Regions from separate parts of the Homo sapiens genome. Here all the other regions are linked to region 2. The links are contacts of gene promoters, found by promoter capture Hi-C in blood cells and fetal thymus (Javierre and others, 2016). All regions are on one chromosome and are shown on one strand. The core of a region is centred on a gene start or on the middle of the fragment in contact, and the rest is flanking DNA. Distances in the headings are between cores, read along the strand shown.

The links. Contacts are between HindIII fragments. The CHiCAGO score rates a contact against its expected background, and 5 or more counts as called.
Region 1: a contact is called between a fragment that was not itself captured here and the fragment with the promoter of ZNF234 in region 2, in 3 of 17 cell types (non-activated CD4 T cells, naive B cells and activated CD4 T cells). The highest score is 11.7, in non-activated CD4 T cells.
Region 3: a contact is called between a fragment that was not itself captured here and the fragment with the promoter of ZNF234 in region 2, in 4 of 17 cell types (non-activated CD4 T cells, activated CD4 T cells, naive CD4 T cells and 1 more). The highest score is 9.6, in non-activated CD4 T cells.
Region 4: a fragment that was not itself captured here is called in contact with the fragment with the promoter of ZNF234 in region 2 in 1 of 17 cell types (non-activated CD4 T cells); the score reaches 6.6 in non-activated CD4 T cells.

The regions. Positions count from the first base shown.
Region 1 is chr19:53,519,735-53,522,434 of GRCh38, forward strand. It overlaps a transcript of ZNF331 not described here. Among named protein-coding and RNA genes, the nearest start is that of ZNF331, 17 kb to the right of the region's middle. RefSeq lists enhancers at 1-764, 765-1,538, 1,029-1,228, 1,539-2,312. The HindIII fragment of the contact is 293 bases long and covers 1,251-1,543 here.
Region 2 is chr19:44,140,276-44,142,975 of GRCh38, forward strand. It overlaps ZNF234 (zinc finger protein 234), which reads left to right and starts at 1,279. Exons shown (of 6, transcript NM_006630.3): 1 at 1,279-1,458; 2 at 2,039-2,092. RefSeq lists enhancers at 1,307-1,706, 1,461-2,051, 1,717-1,766. The HindIII fragment of the contact is 9,485 bases long and covers 1-2,700 here.
Region 3 is chr19:36,494,106-36,496,805 of GRCh38, forward strand. It overlaps the pseudogene CTBP2P7. Among named protein-coding and RNA genes, the nearest start is that of ZNF566-AS1, 5.8 kb to the left of the region's middle. The HindIII fragment of the contact is 1,705 bases long and covers 418-2,122 here.
Region 4 is chr19:36,468,740-36,471,439 of GRCh38, forward strand. All of the region lies in intron 4 of ZNF566 (zinc finger protein 566), which reads right to left. Among named protein-coding and RNA genes, the nearest start is that of ZNF566, 19 kb to the right of the region's middle. The HindIII fragment of the contact is 548 bases long and covers 1,002-1,549 here.

The DNA.
Region 1 (2,700 bases), core at 147-2,646, 9.4 Mb after region 2:
TTACAGAGAGAGCCTTGGCACAGACCCAGTCAGGACCAGGTCACTCCCGTGGAACCTACTCAAGGTCCCTACACACATGCCTGGAGCTCCCCAATCTACTGGGGGGTGGGGGAAAGGGCAGTGCTGAAACGTCCCCAAAATCTCACATGTAAACACCCTACCTAACACTTTCTAGAGGCATTTCCAGCTCGGGGCTGTATTTCCAAGAACGCTCTGGAGGCACAGCTCTTTTCTAAGGAGGGCCATGTTGCATGCTGGGAAATTTTTGAACTTTTCCCAAATCACAGCTTTTAAGCTTTCCGGGCTTATTATTATTATTATTATTATTTTGAGACATTGTTTCACTCTTATCGCCCAGGCTGGAGTGCAGTGGTGTGATCTCGGCTCACTGCAACCTCTGCCTCCTGGGTTCAAGCGATTCTCTTCCCTCAGCCTCCCAAGTAGCTGGGATTACAGGCACACACCACCACGCCTGGCTAATTTTTGCATTTTTAGAGCGATGGGGTTTCACCATGTTGGGCAGGAGGGTCTCGAACTCCTGATCTCAGGTGATATACCCGCCTCGGCCTCCCAAAGTGCTGAGATTACAGGCGTGATTTCTGGTCGTTTCAGACTACATTTCCTTCCCAGAAGGACGCGGGGACACGCCTTCCCTATGGACGGATCCCAAATGCAAGTTGTAAGCAATTATAACTGTAGGCCCCTAGAGCCTGAACCACTTTTCCCAGGAATTTTTTGTGGTGCGCCTTAGGAGCAAGCAAAGTTTCAGGGCAGGAGAAGGCCGACAGGGCTTCCAGCATTTGAAGATTCTGCCAGTCTGAAATACGCTTTCCCAGAAGTCTATGGGGGGTGCAGCTGCTCTAACAGTGGGAGGAGACACCGACGAAAAGCATTCTGACGGCCGCGCTTCCAGCGCTAAGGATTCCCGCGTAGTGAGCATTTCCCAGAGGTCTCTGGGGCATGGCTCCATTAGGGCCGTGTGCAGTTGCCTGCAGGGAAACACTGATGGGCGCCCTTCCAGATACGTCGATTCCCGGGTTATGAGCTACATTTCCCAGAAGCCCTCAAGGCAGGACGCCCTTAGGGTCGCGTAGAGTTGCATGCTGGGAAATCCTGACAGCCGCTTCCAACTCTGTGGATTTCCGGGTTATGGACTACATTTCCCAGAGGCCTCTGGGTCACGGCTCCATTTGCGCCGTGTAGAGTTGCATGCTGGGAAACACTGACGGGCGCCCTTCCAGCTGCGTCGAAGCTTCTCTGGTTTCGCATTACATTTCCCAGAGGGCCTTGGGGCACAGTCCAATGAGGAGCGAGCCGGGTGGCCGGCTGAGGGGCGTGCTTCATGCTCGCGGGATTTTTAAAAATGGTTTCTCCTGGATCTTATCCCAACTGCGCCTGAGACCTTGTTTCACCTCCTGATGTGCTGGGTGTGGTTAGGCCTCGAGCCGGGAGCTATTTGCCTCCCAGGAGGAAGCCAGGGCAGGGTTCCGCGGGGAATGGCGGTGAGGGAGCCACTCGGGACGCGGAGGCCCTAAAATGAAGAAGCTTCGGCCTGAGGCTTCGGGAGCGGCGAGCAGGGAAGTGGGAGTGTGTGTGAGTGTGTGTGTGTGTGTGTGTGTGTGTGTGTGAATAAGCCAGAGGCTGCCTGGTGGGGCCCCGCCGTGGCCCAGTGACTGAGATAATTGTCTTCGTCTGTGGGGTAATGCGAACAAGCCCCGTTCCCCTAAGCCGTGATGCATGCGGGGTTGACGCGGCCGGGCTCTGTCCCCATAAACTGTGACACAGGTGTGTGTAGACGTCTATGAGGGCCATAGCGCCGGGCTGTAAGGGCATCTGTAGGGGTGACGCAGCCGGGCTGTGTCTCTGCACCTCCGTTCTGTGCGAGGTCAATGCTGGTGGGGTCTGCAGAGGTGGCACGGCCAGGACGGGTCTCCGTGTCTCTGAAATGTGCCTTTGCACTTCTGTCAGGTTGACAGGGACAGGCAGTGTCCCTCTGGTGTGAGCGTCTGTGGGTGTGAAAGGGCCAGCGAGTGTGCGGCTGTGACTGGTCGGGATCGGGCCTGGGTGCATGGCCTTTTGAGTGAGCACAGGTGTGTGCGACCATGTCACCTGTCTTTCTAGTGTCTCCGTTGCTTCCTGTGCCTTGGCCTTCCAGCCATGTGGTACCTGCTAGGGAGCAGTGGTCCCAAAGTGACGTGAGAGGCTCTACGCTATTGTGAAAATGACCAAGAAGAAGGCTTCACAAGTCACGAGATGGCAGTTTTGGAGCCAGAAGTGCTCTCCGTGCACACTACCTGGACGACAAGAGGAAGTAACCTCAAGAATAGAATTCCTTTTGGGGAAGAAAGAGGTACCTGACATGGGAGGCGGGGAGGTGGTGAGAGGGGCAGCTCCATGTTTCAGAACCCCAGTTCCTAGAGTTTTCCAGCATTTCTCTGAAAAACTCACATGCCTGTGCCCTCTTATTTCTGATTGATTTTAACTGTGGTCTGGGGACAAGTGTGCCCTATTTTCTTTCTTTGTTTTTTTTTTTTTTGAGACAGAGTCTTGCTCTGTCGCCCAGGGCTGGAGTGCAGTGGTGCGATCTCGGTTCCCAGGTTCAAGCGATTCTCCTGCCTCAGCCTCCCAAGTAGCTGGGACCACAGGCGCACGCCACCATGCCCAGCTAATTTTTGTATTTTTAGTAGAGACGGGATTTCA
Region 2 (2,700 bases), core at 29-2,528:
TTATCTTTTTTTTTTTTTTTTTTTCCGTGACAGAGTCTTGCTCTGTCGCCCAGGCTGGAGTGCAGTGGCATGATCTCGGCTCACTGCAACCTCTGCCTCTCAGGTTCAAGCGATTCTCCTACCTCAGTCTCCCGAGTAGCTGGAATTACAGGCACGCACCACCATGCCCGGCTAATTTTTGTATTCTTAGTAGATATGGGTTTTCACCATGTTCTCCTGGCTGGTCTCGAACTCTTGACCTCATGGTCCGCCCGCCTTGGCCTTCCCAAAGTGCTGGGATTACAGGCGTGAGCCACCGCACCCAGCCCCTGGTTATCTTGAAGAAAGATTTTAGATGGGTTTTTTTCTGATTTTGCTTTATTCTATTATTTATTTGTATCAACCAATGTAAGCCAGATTCCAAATTGCTAACTATAATGACGATATTTTAACCAAAAAATATAAAGGAAGAAAATAAAATATGTTCCTTCACGTATAGGATCCTCCTTAATGCTACTGCATTAAATAAATCATAGGCATTGGGTGTCTGACATCAATGCCAAGCGCTTCACCAGTTATACTTGCTTTGAAGTATTGGGCAATTTAAGAGCTTCTCTGAAATTTGGTGTTTTTACCTCTTCAGTAGACATAATACCATGAAAAGTGTAAACGAAAGAAGATAGCTTTTCCATGAGGACAGGGCTTCCCCACTGGCCCTCTCAAATGATGATTGTTTTTCCTGCCAAACCAGTGGTACCACAGCGTCTGGAGTAGGGGCTGGCACCTTCTTTGTTCTTCATTGCCTCTCCCAAACCATTGTACTTGCTCACTCTTCCAACTTTTAGTTTTGGCCTCATATTATCAGTTTATAGTAATCAATCATCAATCATCTACTGACCCCTAAAAAGTCATTCCCCATTTAGTCCTTGAAGATTGTATCTCCTCGCTTGTTCTCTTTCCAATAATCCTCCGTAGTCCTGGGAGGCGTTTAGACTTCAGGAATTGCTGTCTATTCAATATTTTCGCTCAAGGACTCAGGCAGAGGGAAGGACGACTCTCAGGGTCACAGTCCACATTCCCTACCAAGCGCTCAGCGATATAGGATTCGTTCCCCATGGGCAGTGCGGGAATCGTAGGCAAGGAGCACCGCGGAGTCCCATCGCTTTTCCCTGAAGGGTGAGATTCTGAACGTTTTTCCCTCAGCATTCTGAGTGTAATCCAAACGCTCAGTGGAGTCGTGGTCCATTTGACCCACGCAGGGGGATCCGGGGAATTCTGGGAAATGTAGTCCCGCCAATCAGTGGAGTCGCGGGCACTTCCGCTCCAGGGAAGAGGGGGCGATTGTCACGGCACATTCCACGGTAGTTTCTTCCAGTTCCGCGACTCGCGGGCCCCTCCTAATGTCAGGGACTTAAGATTGGGGCTCGCTGGGACCTGGTGGTCCGGTTATGGGAAAAGAAGCCTCGTGGGAGAGCAGAGGTTTGGTGGGGCGAGGGCGGCGGCTTTTGTTGTGTCAGCGGAGCCTTCTTGGGCTGGGGCTCCCCTCGTGTCCCGCGGCGGGAGGCGGGGGGCATTGGGACTTGGTTGGGTCGCGTCTCGCCTGGTTTGAGGGTTTCCGGGGCTCTGAGCTCGCCCACTCCGCCTCCCTGCACTCCAGGCGCGCAGTCACTTTTTTACAGTGCAAGGTTGGCGTGTTAATCTCCCTGGGCCTCTCCTTGCTGTTCTTTAAAATGGGGACGTTAGGACCATCTTTGTAGAATCGTTTTGGTAACTGGAATAGGTTACACAACACAAACAGTCCCTGTCACTTGGTGAGTGGTGGTTTCTTGTTACTTTCCCACGAAACCTGTTAGGTCCCCCGGTGGGGTCAGAGCTCCAGCAGCAGGGGCCTCAGCCCTTATCTCTGATCCCTGCAGGACGCTGGACGATCCCGGACGCCTTCTGACCTCTTTTTAGGCAGGCGAGGGTTGCGTCCACTTCCACGAAGGGAGGGGAGCATTTAACTTTTCTCAGGGACAGCGACCCAGTCAGGATGTTTCACAGCTTTCTCCTTCCCCAGCCTGAAAAAGGACTGCGCGGACTGACTTCTTGGCTACTGAAAGCAAAGCTCCACGTGAGTGTGACTTGTCATTTTTCTTTTACAGAGACTGTATCTTTGTAGCATGTGTAATAGGGCATGGGCATTTATAATAATTAAGCCTTAATTGCTAACTTCAATTCTAGGGGATTTATACAATTAGATACGTTTAAGCCGCAACGTGACTCTGTGGAGAGGTACTGGTCATCCAAGTAGTAAGAGGTGAAACTTGGGTTGGAACCTAGGCATTCAGGGTCAGAGCCCGAGTTGATCATCTCTTGGATATATTCTCATTGAGGCAGAGGAACTAGCTGTACTCAGGTGGGGAAAGTAAGTTAGAACTTGATTAAAGGACCTTAAGAGCAAGGCTAATTGCCTTGGAGTTTTCTCAGTTTTTAAAAACTGTCAACTATTTTGTTTCATTTATTACAAATATTTCACATTCTAATAGAACCGTATCACTGTGAAGCATTCAGAAATTACAGAAATACGAAGATACAAAAATTGTAATTACCTATGAAATCAGGATGTAAAGATAGTAATGGTTAAATTTCTAATGCATTTTGTTTTAGTGGTTCCATGTTTATATTACTTATAAATGTTTTACAAAATTTTTATTATACATTTCTCAATGTTTTTCTATT
Region 3 (2,700 bases), core at 20-2,519, 7.6 Mb before region 2:
CGTATTCTAACATACCGCAACAATGCCCAATATTTATGGGGTCATAGAAAATAGGATTCACTATGGTTGGAGAATTTCCAGAGCCAATTTAAGTTCAGGAATGCTGGCAATGAGAATGATCAGTAGGAATCAGTGTAATGATTTACATAGTTGAAACTATCAACTGGGCCAGGCTGGTGGCTCACGCCTATAATCCCAGCACTTTGTGAGGCTGAGGTGGGCTGATCACCTGAGGTCAGGAGTTTGAGACTAGCCTGGGCAACATGGTGAAACCCCGTCTCTACTAAAAATACAAAAATTAGCTAGGCATGGTGGCACACACCTGTGATACCAGCTACTCGGGAGGCCAAGGCAGGAGAACTGCTTGAACTTGGGAGGCAGAGGTTGCAGCCAGCCAAGATCATGCCACTGCATTCAAGCTTGGGTGACAGAGCAAAGACTCCATCTCAAAAAAAAAGTTAAAATAGAATAAAACATATAGCCATTATTTTTCTGTTTGGGGCAATTTTAAAGTTTTTCTTTTGTCACAAAAACAGGAATGTACTATGCAAAGGCTTGAAATAGGCCATCTTTTTTTTTTTTTTTTTTGAGTTGGAGTTTCGCTCTTGTTGCCCAGGCAGGCTGGAGTGCAATGGCATGATCTCGGCTCACCACAACCTCCATCTCCTGGGTTCAAGCAATTCTCCTGCCTCAGCCTCCCAAGTAGCTGGGATTACAGGCATGCACTACCACGCGTGGCTAATTTTGGGTTTCTAGTAGAGACGGGATTTCTCCATGTTGGTCAGGCTGGTCTCGAACTCCCGATCTCAGGTGATCTGCCTGCCTCGGTCTGTCAAAGTGCTGGGATTACAGGCATGAGCCACTGTGCCTGGAAAATAGGCCATCTTTTTAAACAAAAAGGCAATGATTCACAAAAGTCTATGAATAGAACATGTAACTAGTTGATACAAATCTAATAGGATTTGTTTAAAATCAGTCAAATCTAATACATCTGAAGTGTTCTTGTATAAAGTATCACATGAAGAAAAGAAGAATTTATTAATGTCTTAAAAAAATGGGTTTCTTCATAGACAATATGACAACTTACCATTAAAAGTGTTTCGGGACGGCCGGGTGCAGTGGCTTACGCCTGTAATCCCAGCACTTTGGGAGGCCGAGGCGGGTGGATCACGAGGTCAGGAGATCGAGACCATCCTGGCTAACACAGTGAAACCCCATCTCTACTAAAAATACAAAAAATTAGCCGGGCATGGTGGCGGGTGCCTGTAGTCCCAGCTACTCGGGAGGCTGAGGCAGGAGAATGGCGTGAACCTGGGAGGCAGGGCCTGCAGTGAGCCGAGATCGTGCCACTGCACTCCAGCCCGGGCGACAGAGCAAGACTCCATCTCAAAAAAAAAAAAAAAAAAAAAGTGTTTCAGGAGACATAAGGAAATGCAACATTATTCTTCCTGAACACTTTTAGTTCAAGACTTTCCACTCAATAAAATAGGAAAGGATCTGAAACTGAGAAAATGTATTTGAGTACAAACAGCTTGTGAAACATAATACTTTTTTTTGCATCATCAGAGGGTTTTACTGAACTTATAACCAACTTGCCCACTCAGTATGCAATTCAGATGTGAGTGAGGGGCCGGGCGCAGTGGCTCACTCCTGTAATCACAGCACTTTGGAAGGCAGAGGCGGGCGAGTCACCTGAGGTCAGGAGTTCGAGACCAGTCTGACCAACATGGTGGAACCTAGTCTCTACCAAAAATACAAAAATTAGCTGGGCGTGGTGGTGTACACTTGTAATCCTAGGTACTCCGGAGGCTGAGGCAGGAGAATCGCTTGAACCTGGGAGGCAGAGATTGCAGTGAGTCCAGATCTCGCCATTGCACTCCAGCCTGGGTGACAGAGCAAGACTCCATCTCAAAACAAAACAAAACAAAAAAAACAGATGTGAGAGGACAGAGGTGTCTCACAGGAGCCTGTACTGTCTTCAATCCTATGTGTGCAGGTATCTACCACAGGCAAACAGTTTCTCCACATTTTGTAGTTATATGATCTTGCTACTAGCAAAAAGAGGTAAACAGCCCCTGTAGAATGAAGGGACTACAGTCACGGGACTAGAGTCACAGAATGAAGCTTTCCTCTTAATATTTTTTAATTTGATGTTTGAACTCTTTTTCTTTTTTCCTTGAGACAGTCTTGCTCTTTCGCCCAGGCTAGAGTGCAGTGGCACGATCTTGGCTTACTGCCACCTCCTGTGTTCAAACAATTCTCCTGCCTCAGCCTCCGGAGTAGCTGGGATTACAGGCGCTCGCCACCACACCCAGCTAATTTTTGTATTTTTAGTAGAGACGGGGTTTCACCATGTTGGCCAGGCTGGTCTCAAACTCCTTACCTCAGGTGATCCACCCGCCTCGGGCTCCCAAGTGCTGGGATTACAGGCATGAGCCACTGCGCATGGCCCGATGTTTGAACTCTCAATGCAGCATCCTAGAGAAGGGTGTTCGGGACCTCCTGTGCCCAAGGGACCGATAAAGAAAAAAGCTCCATTTATTATTTGGGATTTGATGCACAGATGAAAAACTTAACACACAATAACGGAAGTCGGTTGTTAGTAAATCACATCCTAGTCTTTCAGCACTTCCATAAGAGACGACATCTTCAGTTGTCTAGTTCTTGTAGTTTTAGCACGGCAACATCAATGATGCCTAT
Region 4 (2,700 bases), core at 26-2,525, 7.7 Mb before region 2:
CCGTCTCTACAAAAAATACAAAAAATTAACCAGGTGTGGTGGCATGCATCTGTAGTCCCATCTACTCAGGAGGCTGAGGTGGGGGGATCACGTGAGCCCAGGAAGTGGTCAAGACTGCAGTGAGCCGTGATAGTGCCACTGCCCTCCAGCCTGGGCAAGAGTGGGACCCTGTTTCAAAAAAAAAAGTAAAAGCACCCTCTGGGAACCAATAGACAGGTAAATGTTATTATTTTGCAAAGTCCATAAAAACTGAAAAAATCAACACAGTAATAGATTAAAAGTATGAAATATAGAAATGAACAAGGTAATTATCATGCTATGGTGAAAATGTACACTCTTACAAGTATTCAATATAATGACAATAAAGCAGTCCAGTATACAAAGAAATCACTGTAAAATTTATATAACTTTGCATTAAGGTTATATAAGGGAGAAAGTATCAGTATTTTTTAGAATTACATGAGATTATGCAAGGGTGAAATGACATGAAGTCCTGGATTTACTTGAAATTATTTGTGGTGGGACGCGGTGGCTTACGCCTGCAATCCCAGAATTTGGGAGGCCAAGGCAAGTGGATCACCTGAGGTCAGGAGTTCGAGACCAGCCTGGCCAACCTGGTGAAACCCCATCTCTATGAAAAATACAAAAAAATTTGCCAGGCATGGTGGCGGGTGCCTGTAATCCCACCTACTCGGGAGGCTGAGGCAGGAGAATTGCTTGAACCCGGGAGGTGGAGGTTGCAGTGAGCCGAGATCACGCCTTTACACTCCAGCCTGGGTAACAAGAGCGAAACTCCATCTCGAAAACAAAGAAAAAAAAGAAAATATTTGTGCGACAATAGGGGTAGATTAGTGGCATGTATTTTTGAAAATTTTCACAATGAAAAGCAACATTCTACGACTTGTAAAATAAATGAGCGAAAACATTTATTTAAAATAAAAATTAACCATTCTTAAAGAGTACAATGAAATGAATACTACCAAACACTGTGAGTGTCTGAAAGCTTCAGAAATATCTTGTCTCTGAGAATCTATCCTAAGCAAATACAGAAAAATCTATATGCGTAAAGTGTGCTTTTACATAAAGAATGCATATATGCATAAAGAATGGTACTTTTACAAACAAGCATTGATTAGAAAGCAGCTTAACTATGTAAGTATAAGTACTCGAACTGCACTAAAAGAAAAAAAAAACAGAATTATATGAGAAAATGCATGTAGAAACTATTACATACCTATCTAATCTTCATGGCCAGATCTTTTTGGTACTTTTCTTCCTGAGTTCCTGAGTTCACCTTCTATCCTGCTGTTGTTCAACCTACATTTCCTTGCCATACCTTCTCCTGCTGTAAACCTCTAGGTATCAGGGTGCTTCAGGTTTCTGTCCTTGCTATATTTATTCCCTAGGGGATTTCATCCAGTCACAAGACTCTATATCTCTACATTGAAGGCTCTCCAAATTTTCCTCCAATGCTGATCTGACCTCCCAGTTCCAGACTTCTATACTGAGCTGCCTGCATGGCATCTATGCTGCGTCCAGTAAGCCCTGAAGCTTAACATAAGCAAACCCACCCTTGATTTTGCAAGCCCCAAATCTACTTTCCCCATTTCAGTAATTACAAAGCCCATTCTTCCACAGGCTCTCCCTAAAAAGCATGAATCCTTTTTTTTCCGCTTACACTCCAAGACTGAATCCTGCTAACTCTTCCTTGAAAAGATTTCAAACCCACCGCTTCCTTCCACTGCCACTGATAACATTTCAATGGTCTCTGAGCCATCACTGTATCTCAACCAGACTACTACAAAAACCTGCTAAACAGCCACTCTGCTTCCAATCTTGCCACCTACAAAGCAGCCAGGGAAATCTTTTTAAAATATATGTTGCATCAAGGACAGGCGCAGTGGCTCACACCTGTTATCCCAGCACGTTGGGAGGCCGAGGTGGGAGGATCACCTGAGGTCAGGATTTCGAGACCAGCCTGGCCAACATGGTGAAACACTGTCTCTACTAAAATACAAAAATTAGCTGGGCATGGTGGCGGGTGCCTGTAATCCCAGCTACTCGGGAGGATGAGGCACGAGAATCGCTTGAACCCAGGAGGTGGAGCTTGCAGTGAGCCAAGATCATGCCACTGCACTCCAGCCTGGGTGACAGAGCAAGACTCCATCTCAAACAAAAACAAAAACATGGCCGGTGTGGTGGCTCACGCCTGTAATCCCAGCACTTTGGGAGGCCAAGGCAGGTGGATCACAAGGTCAGGAGATTGAGATCATCCTGGCTAACATGGTGAAACCCTGTCTCTACTGAAAAAAAAATACAAAAAAATTAGCCGGGCATGGTGGCACGCACCTGTAATCCCAACTACTCGGGAGGCTGAGGCAGGAGAATCGCTTGAACCTGGGAAGCGGAGGTTGCAGTGAGCCGAGATCATGCCACTGCACTCCAGCTTGGGCGACAGAGCGAGACTCTGTCTCAAAAAAAAAAAAAAAAAAATAATGAGTTGCATCAAGCCATTTCTAGGTGCACAGCCTTCTGATGACTTCTTGTCTTAGAATGAAAAGATTTCCCATGGCCTGTATGGCAGACAGTACATAAACTGACCCACTCTTTCCCACTCCTGCCTCTTTGATCTCATCTCCCACCCACGTACCCCTCTGCTCTCACTCCTCCAGTCACTGGCCTCTGGGGCTGCTCCTCAAA